Linked DNA regions of Homo sapiens: regions 2, 3, 4, 5 and 6 are each linked to region 1. Evidence: promoter capture Hi-C in 16 types of primary human blood cells and fetal thymus (Javierre and others, 2016). All regions are on one chromosome and are shown on one strand. The core of a region is centred on a gene start or on the middle of the fragment in contact, and the rest is flanking DNA. Distances in the headings are between cores, read along the strand shown.

Region 1 (2,663 bases), core at 1-2,500:
AAGGAATTCCTAAACTAGGCCTCCACCAGGTTTGAAACAGTTTTACCTTATTCTCCCCAGGGGCCATGTTCTCATAGATTTCCTTCAGTTTGCCATAGTGTGGACGCAGAAATTTGAGAGGCTTGGGCACTGAAGTCATGGAAGTTGTAGAAGAACGAATCTGCCTTCGCAATTCCTCCAGCGCTGGTCGATACAGGGATGTATCCTTCTCCTGATCAAGAGACGACAGGGCTCAGACAAAAAGGAGTCACACCCCTTCAAGTCATAATACAGAGATATTTAACTTAACAACTCCTCCAAGGAAATGCTGTGTCTTATTCATTCATCTGTGATTCCTCAACTCCCTGCACCCTGCCTGGCACAAAAACAAATGACCCAAGTTAAGAGGTAAGAACTCTGCTTCTCCCACAAGAGAAAGCTGCAAAACTGTACAAATACCCTTTGTAACTCTCCTGCCTCCCAACATCATCATAACACTGACCCTAAAATACAGTCCACCGTACATAGCAGTTGCCTCAAAAAAGAATAAAACAAGTGGGAAAGATCCAAACATGCACCGAATCATGTTAACATCGTGACTCACCCCTAGTCGTTCCACGAGCATCTCCAGTTCATCTTGAAGCTGTTTATCCTCTTCAGACTGGAGGGTTGGGAGAAGCAGCTCATGAAGAGAAGGAATCCCAAAGACGTCCTCCTCCCACTTACCCGGGGCAGGTGAAGAATAAGCCTGCCTCCTTAGGAGGGGCCAGGTGGACAAGGAAACCGAGTGGGAATGGGAAGCCCTGGTGAGAAATCAGCCTGGGTTCTGAATCAGGCTCTACTTGAATGCCACTCTAGGAAACGGAGGTGACAATGACCTGCCCGAGTCCACTTCACGCGGCGGTGGTGAGGGTTGGTGGGGACGGCGGAGGTGACAGCGCGGAACGGAGAATGAGGAGCAGAGAGGCAAGGTGCCGGGAGTCCCGAGGGTCGCCCCAACCGCCCTCTCCCTGGCGCGGTGGGGTAGTTGGGTGTCGGGCCTGAGGCCTGCGGAGCCGCCGTGACTCAGCCCCGCAGCCTCCTTCGCCGACTCTCGGGGTCGCGCCTCACCAGCTCCTGTTCTTTGTCCTTGTCCCCGGCATCCCGCCGCTCCTTGCCGCTCGGCTTCTCGTCCGTGCCGCCGGGGGCCGCCGCTGGAGACTGCTGGGGCTGCACCGGCGCCTTGTCCCGGCCTCCCTCCTCCATCTCCGCCGCCACTGCCGGCCCGCTGCGCGCGCACCCGCTCGCACCGCCCTTTTTCCCAGACCAACTCGCGCGCGTCGGTCGCGGCGCCCCTCCTCCTCCAGAGCCCGCCTGCGACCGGAAACGCCGGGGCGAGCCGGGGCGCTCGGCGACCCACCCACCCCCTCGGCCTGAGAGCCCCGCCCTCGGACCCCGCCCTCGGAGGCAGGTGGAGACTACAATTCCCAGCCTCCCCCGCGCCATAGTCGCCCCTGGCCCCCGACCTCTTCGGAGTTTCCTGAAACCCGCGGGACTTGGCCGTGTGGGGTTTGGGTTCGCTCACTGCTGTAGATGGGCGGTCTGCGAGCGGAGTTACCGAGTTTTACTCCGCCACAGGTTTTTCTCATAACGGTGTAAATAGAACCCACAGTGACACTCCAGTTGACTGCGTGGCGCGACAGACAAACTAGATTTCTTGACGTCCAGGACGCTTGATTGCCGCCTGTATAAAGTCTGTGTAACTGTGTCTAGCCCCACACCACTGTGGAATATTAACCTCATTTGGTTTTGTTGTTGTTGTTGCTTTTGAGAAGGAGGCTCGCTCTCTCGCCCAGGCTGGAGTGCAGTGGCGCGATCTCGGCTCACTGCAAACTCCGCCTACCAGGTTCAAGTGATTCTCGTGCCTCAACCTCCCGAGTAGCTGGGATTACAGGCGCCCGCCACCACGCCCAGCTAATTTTTGTATTTTTTAGTAGAGACGGGGGTTTCACTATGTTGGCCAGGCTGGTCTCGAACTCCTGACCTCAAGTGATCTGCCCGCCTCAGCCTCCCAAAGAGCTGTAATTACAGGTGTGAACCACCGCGCCCGGCCTATTAACCTCATTTGATATTCCTCCCCAGTTGAAAGAGAGTACTCTGCTATTCCCGTGGCTACCATTTTAAATACTTTGGGGAGCCAGGTGGAGTTGACATCGATCAATAAAGCCCTGTGCTCCCCGCCAAGTTCTGGAGCTAAAAGCAGAACAAGACAAGGTCTTCGTCCTCTATCTTCTCGTCTTTCCCTGTGAAGCCTTAGAGGCGTGTGACTGACGCGCTTATGTCAGGACTGCTTTCGAGTGATTCCATGCACTTCTTACAATCTTTTGAGATTGGTAGGGTTAGGTCCATTTTACAGAGAAGATCATATCAAGTAGTAAAATGAGGATTTATTTTTTATTTTATTTATTTGTTTTGAGATAGTGTTTCTCTCCTGTTGCCCAGGCTGGAGTGCAATGGCGCAATCTCGGCTCACCACAACCTTCGCCTCCCGGGTGCAAGTGATTCTCCTGCCTCAGCCTCCCGAGTAGCTGGATAAAGAGGAGTTTTAGAAAAAAATCCCTCTACAGATGACTGAAGAAAGCATGAAAATGTATGGACACCGTGAAGCCAGAGATAGAATAGGCAGAACAGTTATGGACTGTTGA
Region 2 (2,663 bases), core at 67-2,566, 460 kb after region 1:
CTACTCAGGAGGCTGAGGTGGGAGGATCACTTGAGCCCTTGAGCCTCAACTTGAGGAAGTTGAGGCTGCAGTGAGCCAAGATCGTGCCACTGCACTCCAGCCTGGGGCGACAGAGCAAGACTCTCTCCAAAAAAAAAAAAAAGTCTTAAAAATAGCTGTTTTTGTTTTCCATGTTTGTTTCATAAATTTTTTTTTTTTTTTTTTTTTTGAGATAGAGTCTCGCTCTATGGCCCAGGCTGGAGTGCAGTGGCTCAATCTTGGCTCACTGCAAACTCTACCTCCTGGGTCCAAGTGATTCTCCCGCCTCAGCCTTCCGAGTAGCAGGAATTACAAACGTGCGCCACCACACCTGGCTAATTTTTATATTTTTAATAGAGATGGGGTTTGACTATGTTGGCCAGGCTGGTCTTGAACTCCTGACTTAGTGATCCGCCTGCCTTGGCCTCCCAAAGTGCTGGGATTACAGGCGTGAGCCACTGCGTCCGGCCTAATTTTAAAAGTTTAAAATGGATAATTTTTATTGGCTGTGTGTTTCATGATTACCAGACTATGTTTCTCTCTCTTGTAGAGGTCCTTTGTTCTCCAATGTTGCTGTCAACATTCAGTCATTTCTCCTTATTTCACATGGCAGCAAATATGTATGTTTTGTGGAGCTTCTCTTCCAGCATAGTGAACATTCTGGGTCAAGAGCAGTTCATGGCAGTGTACCTATCTGCAGGTAATATGCTTTAATCTCGGGGCCTTTGAGAGTATAAGCACTCTAAGCTATCTGCAGAACGGACAAAGGGAATGATTACTGCCATATTCTACACGTAGTGAGTGCTCAGAACATATTTGTTTCTCACAGTGTATGTAGAGAAGGGAGCCACAGATTGGTGGAGATGTTGCCTTTTCTGTTCATTTTGCTGATTTCTTCTTACATATGAATTATGTGGGTATGTTTAATTTTAAGTTAGGATAAACAGGCGTTAAGTAAGGGTTAGTGTAGAATTTAAGCATGTCATTTTTGTAATCTCATCGGGCCTTGATTTCATTAGTTTAGGCCCTCCATTTTATAGATAGTGGTTCCCAGACTTCCCGGCTGCCTCAATCTCCTGGGTCTTTGTTAAATAACCTTAAGCAAGCTCATTTCCCCCAGTGTGTTCAGTTCACAGAAAGCTTTAAATCAGAGCTATACAATATGATTGTCAAGAGTGAGTTTGTTCTGTCTTCTTTGCAAGAATGTAGCAGGGAACCACTTCCTAGCCATGGTCTTGAAGATGGTATCGTTTCTTATTTCAGTTAGGAAATTCTCATGCATGAATCCAGGTCCCTAGATGCTGCTAACGTGACAGTTGGTCAAATTTTACTTACCTCTCTGTTTGTAAAATGTACTTACTTAATACAATATAAAAATTAATTTCTAAAATCTCTACATTTAGAAACAGTATATCTGGCAGTTGTGCTGTGATGTAGTGAAAAACACTAAGCTTGGCGATAGACCCAGGTTCAGATCCTATTTCTACTACCAGCTGAGTGATGTTGCAAAAATGACTAAACCTCATGATACTTACCTCCTCATGACAAGGGGTTAAAGAAAGGACTACATAAAAGCATCTACCACAAGCCCCAGAGTAGATGCTTAATTAGTGTTCATCGAATACTTATGTGTATCTAGTCCTTCAAAAAAAGAAGCTGAGCATTGTGTTTGGCTTGTAAGATAAGTGTATAGTTCTTTCCCAAGCACTAGTTATGTTGTAGTTACAGAGGGTCTGTTTCAGATACATTAATTCCTGCTCCATAGGAGGTTTTTAAAAATGAGCCACGTTGACTCAAATGGCACTGAAGCCAAAGAGACTTACGGGATCATCCAGTCTGTTGTCCCACCCCAGATATTCTGATTTCGTGTGTCTGGAGTACAGCCAGAGAATATACTCTTGGGAATGAGTCTTCATGTTATAGTTGAGGAAAATGGTAACTGAGAAGTGGAGTGAATGACCGTGTCGCTCAGCAGATCATGCAGCAGGTCAGACTTTTCATCCCCTGTAAAGTCGCTGAAATGATAGGCAGGAGAAGTATTCATGCCCGTACCCTCACAGTGATCCAGATTGAAACCCGACACTGTTTATCTGTGTAGAAATCAGAAATGAAAACCATTTTCATGGCTGGATGTGGTGCCGCACGCCTGTAATCCCAGCTACTCAGGAGGCTGGGGGACAAGAATAACTTGAACCCGGTAGGCACAGGTTGCAGTGAGCCAAAATTGTACCACTGCACTTCAGCAGCCGGGGCGAAAGAGTGAAACTCTGTCTCAAAAAAAAAAAAAAGAAAAGAAAAAAAAAAGTAAACCATTTTTATACCTCACTTAAATTATTGTAATGTGACTTGTTTTTCAGGTGTTATTTCCAATTTTGTCAGTTACGTGGGTAAAGTTGCCACAGGAAGATATGGACCATCACTTGGTGCAGTAAGTATTTCTATTGTAAATTTTTTTTAATTTAATTTTTAAATTTACTTTGAAATAAGTTTAGACTTAGAAGAATGTTGTAAAATTGATAAGAGGTTCTCATATACCCTTCACCCTACTGTTAACTAACATCGAAACCAAGAAATTAACATTGAAACAATACAGTTGACTAATTTAGAATTTATACATTTGTAAAGCTTTGTAAATGTCCGGCTAT
Region 3 (2,663 bases), core at 46-2,545, 400 kb after region 1:
AATAACATGAGGACACCTGCTCTTTGCCCAGGCTTGCTGTGTGCTGAGGGCTTTGTGCCCACGGTGTCATTCGGTACAATGGTGCTCTGTATTGTTGACGGAGCCTTGCAGATCCTAGATGACAGATGTTGAATTACTTACCTATCTTACTGTGTAACAAATTACCCCAAAACTTAGTGGCTTAGAACAACAGCATTTATCATTTCACAGTTTCTGAGGGTTAGGAAAATGGGTGTGGCTCAGCTGGATGCCTCTGACTCAAGGTCTCTCATGAGGTTACCATCAAGTTGTTGTTGGGGCTACAGTGTCACCTGAAGACTCCCCTAGGGGAGGCTCCACTTCAAGCTCACTTACATGGAGGTCTTCAGGACCCGGTTGCTCATGAACTGTTGGCTGGAGACCTTCAGTTCCTTGACACATGGGCCTCTGCATAGGGTAGCTCAAAACATGGCAGCTGAACCCCATCAGAGAGAGCAAGCAAGAGGGCACCCAAAATAGAAGCAATGGTCTTTTTGTAACCTAATCTTAGATGTGATATCCCATTGCTTTTGCCATATTCTTTTTTTTTGAGACAGAATCTCGCTCTGTCACCCCAGGCTGGAGTGCAGTGGTGCAATCTCAGCTCAGTGCAGCCTCTGCCTCCTGGGCTCAAGCAATTCTCCTGCCTCAGCCTCCCGAGTAGCTGTGATTACAGGCATGTGCCACCATGCCTGGCTAATTTTTGTATATTTTAGTAGAGATGGAGTTTACCATGTTGGCCAGGCTGGTCTTGAACTCCTGACCTCGAGTGATTGGCCTGCCTCAGCCTACCAAGGTGCTGGGATTACGGGTGTGAGCCACCGCACCCGGCCGCTTTTGCCATATTCTATTTGTTGGGTTTGTTGTTGTTGTTGTTGTTGGTTTGAGACAGTGTCTCCCTCTGTTGCCTGGGTTGGAGTGAAGGGACACAATAATAGCTCACTGCAGCCTCAACCTCCCAGGCTTGGGTGATCCTCCCACCTCAGCTGCCTGAGTAGCTGGAACTACAGGCACCACATTGTGCCACCACAATGGGCTAATTTTTAAATTTTTGGTAGAGATGGGGTTTCACCATGTTGCCTAGGTTGGTCTCAAATTCCTGGGCTCAAGTGATCCTCCCACCTTGGCCTTCCAGAGTGCTGGGATTCCATGCATGAGCCACTGCGTCTGGCCCATTTTCTATTTGTTAGAAGTGAGTTACTAAATCCATCCTATCCTCAAGGGGAGGGGATTACACAAAGGTGTGTATCCTGGGAGTCAAGGCTAACTGGGGTAACTATCGGGGAATCTGTCCCGATAGTCACGTAGGTTCTTTTCTGTTTTTCCTAAGCGTCGGCCAGCTTGAGAAATAAAGGGACGAGTACAAAAGAGAGAAATTTTAAAGCTGGGCGTCTGGGGGAGACATCACGTGTCGGTGGGTTCCGTGATGCCCCACAAGCCGCAAAAACCAGCAAGTTTTTATTAGGGATTTTCAAAAGGGGAGGGAATGTGCAAATAGGTGTGGGTCACAGACATCAAGTACTTTACAAGGTAATGGAATATCACAAGGCAAGTGGAGGCAGGGCAAGATCACAGGACCACAGGACTGGGGCAAAATTAAAATTGCTAATGAAGTTTCGGGCACCATGGTCATTGATAACATCTTATCAGGAGACAGGGTTTTGAGAGCAACTGGTCTGACCAAAAATTTATTAGGCGGGAATTTCCTCTTCCTAATAAGCCTGGGAGTGCTATGGGAGACTGGGGTCTATTTCACCCCTATAGCCTCGACCATAAGAGACAGGCACACCTAGGGGGGCCGTTTATAGGCCTATACCCCCAGGCGCGTATTCTCTTTCCCAGGGATCTTCCTTGCTGAGAAAAAGAATTCAGTGATATTTCTCCCATTTGCTTTTGAAAGAAGAGAAATATGGCTCTGTTCCACCCGGCTCATCGGTGGTCAGAGTTTAAGGTTATCTCTCGTATTCCCTGAACAATTGCTGTTATCCTGTTCTTTTTTCAAGGTGCCCAGATTTCATATCATTTAAACAGACATGCTCTACAATTTGTGCAGTTAATGCAATTATCACAAGGTTCTGAGGCAACATACATCCTCCTCAGCTGACAGGATTAAGAGATTAAAGTAAAGACAGGCATAGGAAATCACAAGGGTATTGACTGGGGAAGTGATAAGTGTCCATGAAATCTTTACAATTTATGTTTAGAGATTGCAGTAAAGACAGGCATAAGAAATTATAAAAGTATTAATTTGGGGAACTAATAAATGTCCGTGAAATCTTCACAATCCAGGTTCTTCTGCCATGGCTTCAGCCAGTCCCTCCGTTCGGGGTCCCTGACTTCCCGCAACAGGTAACATACCAACATGTGTAGGTGGTGAGGTTGCCATTTTAATGAAAATGAAACAGAGCGACTCATCTTGGTGCCCTGGTGCAGGGTGATGCCTCTGTACATAGAGGTGGTGGCGGGAGCCCTGAGACTTTCCTCGGAAAGGAGCTTTGGCTCTGCCCCGAGTACTGCCCTGGAGTACAGTGGTGTGATCTCAGCTCACTGCAGCCTCCACCTCCGGGGCTCAAGCAATTCTCCCACCTCATCCTCCCAAGTAGCTGGTATTACAGGCACGTGCCACCACGTCCAGCTAATTTTTA
Region 4 (2,663 bases), core at 76-2,575, 380 kb after region 1:
ACTTACTGAGCCGTGGATCCTCTGAATCACCCTGCATGACCCAGAGCTGTGTCCTGACGGCGTCTCCTTCTTTTGCAGGTGGTGGAGTTTGACACCCCATCGGTCCTTCTGTCCAACGACAGTTCCCGATTCTATGCCATGTTTGCTGCTGCAGAGAACAAGGTCGCTGTCAAGGGCTGACTCCTCCCTGTTGACGAAGTCTCTTTTCTTTAGAGCATTGCCATTCCCTGCCTGGGGCGGGCCCCTCATCGCGTCCTCCTACCGAAACCTTGCCTTTCTCGATTTTATCTTTCGCACAGCAGTTCCGGATTGGCTTGTGTGTTTCACTTTTAGGGAGAGTCATATTTTGATTATTGTATTTATTCCATATTCATGTAAACAAAATTTAGTTTTTGTTCTTAATTGCACTCTAAAAGGTTCAGGGAACCGTTATTATAATTGTATCAGAGGCCTATAATGAAGCTTTATACGTGTAGCTATATCTATATATAATTCTGTACATAGCCTATATTTACAGTGAAAATGTAAGCTGTTTATTTTATATTAAAATAAGCACTGTGCTAATAACAGTGCATATTCCTTTCTATCATTTTTGTACAGTTTGCTGTACTAGAGATCTGGTTTTGCTATTAGACTGTAGGAAGAGTAGCATTTCATTCTTCTCTAGCTGGTGGTTTCACGGTGCCAGGTTTTCTGGGTGTCCAAAGGAAGACGTGTGGCAATAGTGGGCCCTCCGACAGCCCCCTCTGCCGCCTCCCCACGGCCGCTCCAGGGGTGGCTGGAGACGGGTGGGCGGCTGGAGACCATGCAGAGCGCCGTGAGTTCTCAGGGCTCCTGCCTTCTGTCCTGGTGTCACTTACTGTTTCTGTCAGGAGAGCAGCGGGGCGAAGCCCAGGCCCCTTTTCACTCCCTCCATCAAGAATGGGGATCACAGAGACATTCCTCCGAGCCGGGGAGTTTCTTTCCTGCCTTCTTCTTTTTGCTGTTGTTTCTAAACAAGAATCAGTCTATCCACAGAGAGTCCCACTGCCTCAGGTTCCTATGGCTGGCCACTGCACAGAGCTCTCCAGCTCCAAGACCTGTTGGTTCCAAGCCCTGGAGCCAACTGCTGCTTTTTGAGGTGGCACTTTTTCATTTGCCTATTCCCACACCTCCACAGTTCAGTGGCAGGGCTCAGGATTTCGTGGGTCTGTTTTCCTTTCTCACCGCAGTCGTCGCACAGTCTCTCTCTCTCTCTCCCCTCAAAGTCTGCAACTTTAAGCAGCTCTTGCTAATCAGTGTCTCACACTGGCGTAGAAGTTTTTGTACTGTAAAGAGACCTACCTCAGGTTGCTGGTTGCTGTGTGGTTTGGTGTGTTCCCGCAAACCCCCTTTGTGCTGTGGGGCTGGTAGCTCAGGTGGGCGTGGTCACTGCTGTCATCAATTGAATGGTCAGCGTTGCATGTCGTGACCAACTAGACATTCTGTCGCCTTAGCATGTTTGCTGAACACCTTGTGGAAGCAAAAATCTGAAAATGTGAATAAAATTATTTTGGATTTTGTAAAACTCTTCGTGTATCAAACAATTCTCTGGGAAGGGAGTGAGATATCCCTGAATGGCTTTGGGACCTGCATATCCAGCAATGGAGTTGCATCTGGGAAGGACTGGTAGCAAAGCTGGTTGGTTGCAAGGGCCATGGGGCCCTGAACACCTGGAATCATCTCTGTGGGCCTTAGTCCCGCTGCCTGTGTTCCTGGACATGGTCCCCAAATAAAGCTCCTTGGCTGCCCATAAGAGGGTGGGGAGTGGAAAGGTGAGTGGTTGTGGTGAGGTGGGTGGTCGTGGTGAGATGTATTTAAAATGAATAGTTTATCGAGGATTCTTAGCAATTCAAACAATATAATTACCCTTTCAGCCAATTCATTCAGATTCACCCATTGAAAATTAGTAACCCCGTCTCTACTAAAAATACAAAAATTAGCCTGGTGTGGTGGCAGGCACCTGTAGTCCCAGCTACTCAGGAGGCTGAGGCAGGAGAATCACTTGAACTCGGAGGTGGAGGTTGCGGTGAGCTGAGATCGTGCCATTGCACACCAGCCTGGGCGACAGAGTGAGACTCCGTCTCAAAAAAAAAAAAAAAAAAAAAGCAAAGGGTACTCATTCTAAAGTTTCTGACTATATTGTGTTGAATGCAGCCAAGAAAGCTTTTAAACTGGTATTAGTTTGCTGGCCATCAGTAGAAATTATACTAATTTTTCTAAAGTACCTGTGCTGTCGTGAGAACCCAGGAGCTTGACTCTAAAGTTAAAACTTTAGTTCCTAGAGTGTCACATTTCAAGCGCTCAGTAGCTGTATGCGACCTGTACAACATAGTAATGTACAGTGCAGATATAGGACGTGTCGATCATTGCAGGAAGTTCTGTTGGGCAGCTCCAATCTAAACGGTAACCACTTTTACTGAGGCACTAGATTTATCTTCCAAGAAGGTAACAAGGTCAGCAGAACGAGACCCTTCAAACTGCTGGGATTACAGGCATGAGTCACTGTGCCCAGCCTAAATTGGATTTTTAAAAGCAATTTCCATTTTGCCATTTTGTGCTTTCCCAGCTCATAATTCTCTGTTGCCAAGTAGAGTAGGCTAACAGGTGTAAGAAACAAGCCCAGACTTTCAGCAGTTTACCAC
Region 5 (2,663 bases), core at 43-2,542, 360 kb after region 1:
CTGGGATTACAGGTGTGAGCCATCGCACCCGGCCCCTTTTTTCTCACTTTCGTTCCTGAATTGCATTCCAAAGACTGAACTTGTCTTCTTTTACTGTCCTTTTTATCCTTGTATAAGAGGTATCTTTGATTCAGTTTTCATTAGTTTTCTAGGCTCCATGCTTCTTTGGCATCAAAACTCTTCTAGCTTTTTTCCTTGCCATTAAAAAAAAAAAAACCTTTTGTCTTTTCTGGCCAATTGATTTTAAAGAACTTTCTAAGGAAGAAAAGGAAAAAGCCATTTCCTGCTTTCTGTTTGAGGGAATTACTTCACGTCAAAACAAGACATTGCTCCAGGTCTTTCATGCTGGAAGGGAATCTTTAGCCAAGCAGGGTGACTCTCCCCAAGCCTTTTTACTGTTCTCTCCCTTGAGCCCATCTGCTGCATTCGTCCCCAGGGGTACACTGCTCCCCTGAAAGCTGACTGATGTCCTTTGTTATGATTTCCCTTTAACACAGGTGAGATAGGCCAAAACAAGCACCACAACTTCATTAAACAGTAGTTAGTGACAGAAGAGAAACAAGAAAAAGAACATAGTGGCCAGGTGCAGTGGCTCACGCCTGTAATCCCAGCACTCTGGGAGGCCCAGGCTGGTGGATCACCTGACGTCAGGAGTTCAAGACCAGCCTGGCCAACATGGTGAAACCTCATCTCTACTAAAAATACAGAAAGTTAGCTGGGCGTGGTGGTGGATGCCTGTAATTCCAGCTACTCGGGAGGCTGAAGCAGGAGAATCTCTTGAACCCAGGAGGCGGAGGTTGCAGTGAGCTGAGATTGCGCTATTGCCCTCCAGCCTGAGCAACAAGAGCGAAACTCCATCTCAAATAATAATAATAATAATAATAATAACCTGATTTACACTCCGGTTCTAATAGGGCTTCTTCCAAGTTTCACGGGTAACTTGGAAACTCTCCTGTGGTCATGTCAGTCAAGGACACCATCTTGAGGACTTCACTGCCTTTCTTACCAGCACATTCCATCAGTGCAAAGGTAGTCAGATTCAGAGGACTCTAAAGTCTTCCAGTCCAGGTGGTCCAAACCTAGGCACCTTTTGTTAAACTGGAACAACTTGACCCATTGTTTCGGGCACCATTCCTTCCTTAGCTTAGATCTTAAAGCCCTGCCTCGGCCCAGAGGGAATGTCTCCTCCCCTCCTATCTGGGAAAGGGGCCAGTAACTGAGTCCCCCAACCCTGAACAGAGTCATTCATTTTTTTTTTTTTTTTTTTTTTTTTTCCTGAGACAGAGTCTCAGTCTGTTGCCCAGGCTAGAGTGCAGTGGTGCAATCTCGGCTCTGGAGTAGCTGGGATTACAGGCACATGCCACCATGCCCAGCTAATTTTTTTTTTTTTTTGTATTTTTTAGTAGAGACAGGGTTTTGCCATGTTTGCCAGGCTGGTCTCAAACTCCTGGCCTCAAGTAATCCACCCACCTTGGCCTCCCAAAGTGCTGGGATTACAGGTGTGAACCGCTGCGCCCACCGGCCTGGAGTCACTCATTTCTAGGAGGAGAACTATCCTGCTAGACGGACCAGGTTTCCTAACTCGTTTCTGGTAGAAGGATGTGAGGATTGTTGCATTAGGAAGATGGGTCCTAATACAGCTTTTTCCAAGTTTCCTGGGCGTTACTTCTTCCAAGTCTTATGGGTGTTTTTCAGGTTCCCATTAGGCTGTTAGACAGAGGTATGCCCAGGGGGTAGATCCCGACAGTGGGGTCGTGGCTGTAGACACTGGGGCAAGGCAGGCTGTTTGCGCCCTCCATGAGTGCTGAAGAGACAGCATCGTGGTGATCTCGATGAGGCCCTCACAAGAGGTCTTTCATGACATGGTGGCACGAGAAAGGTAGGAGGGTCAAGAACCAGGCGTACAGCCAAGGAAAAGTGATTCAACAGCTAAAACCCTGTAGTTCTAAATCTAAACCATGGAACCAAGTTGCAGAAAGGTAGACAGGACTATGGCAAACTTCTTTTCTTTTTGGCTCTGTAGAGAGAGCACCTTTTAAATGTTTATATCCTTTGACACAGTAATTTCAGTTCTAAGATTCTTTCCCAAGGAAATTGTCTGAGGTGGCAGTAAAGTTTCAGCACTAAGATAATAGGACATAACATTATTATAAGTTTTACATAAACTAAATGTTGACCCTTAGAGGGCTGGCTGAACAAGAATACATGCACATGATGGAATGCAACCACTAAAATTTTATCTTGAAAATTTTTTTAAAAGATGGTTGACTGAGTGTTATACAATGCTTTTGTTTTGTTTTGTTTGAAACAGAGTCTCGTTCTGTCGCCCAGGCTGGAGTGCAATGATACGATCTTGGCTCACTGCAACCTCCGCCTCCCAGGTTCAAGTGATTCTCCTGCCTTAGCTTCCCAAGTACCTGGGATTACAGGCACTCGCCATCTTGCCCAGCTAATTTTTGTATTTATAGTAGAGACAGGGTTTCACCATGTTGGCCAGGTTGGTCTCGAACTCCTGACCTCAGGTGATCTGCCCGCCTCAGCCTCCCAAAGTGCTGGGATTACAGGCATGAGCCACCGTGCCCGGCCAATGCAGTGTTAAGTGAAAAAAGCAATTACAATATTGCATTTCTGATATGATCTCAACTCTGAGGAAAGACCGAAAG
Region 6 (2,663 bases), core at 44-2,543, 290 kb after region 1:
AGCTTGTCTCTGGGAGGCTGTGACCCTTCTTAGAGGGGGGAAACATTTTGGAGAAGTATGTATGTGTTTTTTGTTTTTAAGTGACCTGAGTTGATACAGCATATTGATTAGACTTAGCCAGGCAAGCAGTGGTTTAGAATAGAGTTTCAGGTAAAAACTAGGTAAGACTTAGTAATACAGGGTGGAGAATTTGTTTTTGTTATTGTTTTTTACTAACAGCTTTGTTGCCATAGGATTTATATGACATGAAATTCACTCTTTTAAAGTATAAATTCAGTGTGTTTTTTTTCAATGTATTCACTGCATTGTGCAACCATTACCACTATCTAGTTTTAGAACATTTTCAGTACCCAGGGAATTTGTGTTTGAAGTTAAGTTATAACATTGTTTTAACTGGATAACTTCATGGAGCTTTAAAATAACACCAGCTAACCCATTAGTTAATTATAAAAAGGCAGAGATGGAATATATCATTGGTAGAATAAGTGTTTGGTAAGTTTTTATTTAGTAAAATTTAGTAGAAGAAATGATGTCCACTTTAAAATTGTGGAGTTTTTAATACTTGGGACAAACTGAAATTGTTTCTAGAAAGTCTTTAAAAAAAAAACCAACCTTTCTATTGTATACACTGGATTTGAGCTTAGTTGAAGAGAATGGGTGTCTCTTTACTAGTGTGTTTACTGTTTCTAATTTTTTTTCCCTTAGAGTTGGGAGAAGGTAATTTTTCTTGATTCTCTTATACTGAATCTTTTTCTTTAAAAAAATGAAATCAAAATCTTTGAACTTTTTTTGAAAATTAATTTTTGTAGCTATAACAGTAGAAAGCTTTAGTACTTTTGCCTTTTTTTTTTTTTTCCTATTTTTAAGGCACTTGAGCTTATGGTTAAGTACTGTTTAGGAAATAATCTATTTCTTGATGAATTTTTAATTTCAGGAATTCTGATGTGAAACTAACAGTCTGTGAGCCCTGGAACCTCCACTCAGAGAAGATGAAGGATATCGACATAGGAAAAGAGTATATCATCCCCAGTCCTGGGTATAGAAGTGTGAGGGAGAGAACCAGCACTTCTGGGACGCACAGAGACCGTGAAGATTCCAAGTTCAGGAGAACTCGACCGGTCAGTTTCCTTTCCTAAGAGTCTCTTACCTGCTTGTTGTACTAAAACACATCTTTTTTCGTATAATGGGTAATTTAGAAACTTATTTTTTGGCCGGGCGCGGTGGCTCACGCCTATAAACCCAGCACTTTGGGAGGCTGAGGCGGGTGGATCATCTGAGGTCAGGAGTTCGAGACCAGCCTGACCAACATGGTGAAAACCTGTCTCTACTAAAAGTACAAAAATTAGCCAGGCGTGGTGGCGGGCGCCTATAATCCCAGATACTTGCGAGGCTGAGGCACGAGAATCGCTTGAACCCAAGAGGCGGAGGTTGCAGTGAGCTGGGATCATGCCACTGCACTCCAGCCTGGGCGATAGAGCGAGACTCAGTCTCAAAAAAAAATGTGTTTTTCTTTATTGGCTTTAGGTTACTGTTAAGAATTTATGGTTATTGATAAGTCTCTGGTCCATAGTAAGCACTCAATAAGTGGAAGAGAGGCTGGCTGTCACCCTCTCACCCGGTCTGTTCTGAGCATTCTCCTCTTTTTCACTTTTATTCTATGTTGGTGCCTTCTGAAAAGGCTATACTTAACAGAAGACAACTTATTGAGGGGGAGGGGGTCATGGGGTCAATGACAGGGAATATAAAGCCAATTAAGCTTCATTCATGTACCTAAACAAAATTGGTGTTTTCTTCTACTTTCTGTCATGTGTGTTTAAAATGTGAACCTGGCCAGGCACAGTGGCTCATGCTTGTAATCCCAGCACTTTGGGAGGTTGAGGTGGGTGGGTCACTTGAGGTCAGGAGTTTGAGACCAGCCTGGCCAACACGGTGAAACCCTGTCTCTGCTAAAAATACAAAAATTAGTGAGGTGTGGTGGTGGGCACCTGTACTCCCAGCTACTCAGGAGGGAGGCAGGAGAATTGCTTGAATCCAGGAGGCAGAGGTTGCAGTGAGCCAAGATCACGCCACTGCACTCCAGCCTGGGCAACAGAGTGAGACTCCGTCTCCAAAAAAATAAAAAATAAAATAAAATGTGAATCCTTTGGAGAGACTCAGATTTCAGAACAATTCTAGATAGTTGTGGGATTATCAGTATGTTTTTCAAGCGAATTCATAAGTTAAGCAGTCTTTAGATAATAATCTAATTTCCTCCAAGGGAAATAATGAAGATGCGTTTTTACCTCGAGAAAATATTCTTTTTCCTGAGGAAAAAAAGCATTATACCTTTTCTTACAAAAGTACCTAATAAGGCAGAATGGACTAGGTTTAGGAAGTTGAGGTTTTTGTTGGTGTATTTGTTATGTGAAAATTTGAGAAAGATAATGGACTTTGCAGCTGACACTGGCCTTTCCTTAGCCTGATACTACCTTTCCCTCTTTGGTTGTGTTAAAGCCATTGCTTTATTAATGAACATTTTCTTGCTAATGAGTCTTTTCTGTACCCTACTGTGTATTATAGAATGCTTTTCCATTCAGGTTTAACTTCAGAGAAACAGGCTTAATGTAATCAGTGTCAAATGCTTCTCGTGGTGCCAGTTTTATAACTTCCTCATGTCCTTTTGT

What was found. The method cuts DNA at HindIII sites, captures the fragments that hold promoters and counts their contacts. A CHiCAGO score of 5 or more calls a contact.
Region 2: a fragment that was not itself captured here is called in contact with the fragment with the promoter of PSMD2 in region 1 in 3 of 17 cell types (M0 macrophages, M1 macrophages and erythroblasts); the score reaches 5.3 in M0 macrophages.
Region 3: a fragment that was not itself captured here is called in contact with the fragment with the promoter of PSMD2 in region 1 in 16 of 17 cell types (M2 macrophages, M1 macrophages, M0 macrophages and 13 more); the score reaches 24.9 in M2 macrophages.
Region 4: a contact is called between a fragment that was not itself captured here and the fragment with the promoter of PSMD2 in region 1, in 4 of 17 cell types (M1 macrophages, endothelial precursors, M0 macrophages and 1 more). The highest score is 10.4, in M1 macrophages.
Region 5: a contact is called between a fragment that was not itself captured here and the fragment with the promoter of PSMD2 in region 1, in 3 of 17 cell types (M0 macrophages, M2 macrophages and M1 macrophages). The highest score is 6.3, in M0 macrophages.
Region 6: a fragment that was not itself captured here is called in contact with the fragment with the promoter of PSMD2 in region 1 in 6 of 17 cell types (endothelial precursors, M1 macrophages, M2 macrophages and 3 more); the score reaches 7.2 in endothelial precursors.

Annotation. Positions count from the first base shown.
Region 1 is chr3:184,297,828-184,300,490 of GRCh38, reverse strand. It overlaps PSMD2 (proteasome 26S subunit ubiquitin receptor, non-ATPase 2), which reads right to left and starts at 1,250. Exons shown (of 21, transcript NM_002808.5): 1 at 1,090-1,250; 2 at 584-640; 3 at 47-211. The coding sequence starts at 1,224. RefSeq lists a silencer at 1,243-1,582. The HindIII fragment of the contact is 6,965 bases long and covers 1-2,663 here.
Region 2 is chr3:183,840,353-183,843,015 of GRCh38, reverse strand. PARL (presenilin associated rhomboid like) reads left to right here. Exons shown (of 10, transcript NM_018622.7): 6 at 569-718; 7 at 2,376-2,446. Among named protein-coding and RNA genes, the nearest start is that of MAP6D1, 16 kb to the right of the region's middle. The HindIII fragment of the contact is 311 bases long and covers 1,161-1,471 here.
Region 3 is chr3:183,899,119-183,901,781 of GRCh38, reverse strand. It overlaps the pseudogene CYP2AB1P. Among named protein-coding and RNA genes, the nearest start is that of MIR4448, 14 kb to the right of the region's middle. The HindIII fragment of the contact is 4,315 bases long and covers 1-2,663 here.
Region 4 is chr3:183,918,817-183,921,479 of GRCh38, reverse strand. ABCC5 (ATP binding cassette subfamily C member 5) reads left to right here. Exons shown (of 30, transcript NM_005688.4): 30 at 79-1,546. The coding sequence ends at 180. Among named protein-coding and RNA genes, the nearest start is that of MIR4448, 33 kb to the right of the region's middle. The HindIII fragment of the contact is 1,722 bases long and covers 465-2,186 here.
Region 5 is chr3:183,939,074-183,941,736 of GRCh38, reverse strand. The region is part of intron 25 of ABCC5 (ATP binding cassette subfamily C member 5); the gene reads left to right. Among named protein-coding and RNA genes, the nearest start is that of MIR4448, 54 kb to the right of the region's middle. The HindIII fragment of the contact is 7,094 bases long and covers 1-2,663 here.
Region 6 is chr3:184,012,719-184,015,381 of GRCh38, reverse strand. It overlaps ABCC5 (ATP binding cassette subfamily C member 5), which reads left to right. Exons shown (of 30, transcript NM_005688.4): 2 at 935-1,118. The coding sequence starts at 990. Among named protein-coding and RNA genes, the nearest start is that of ABCC5, 3.8 kb to the left of the region's middle. The HindIII fragment of the contact is 931 bases long and covers 828-1,758 here.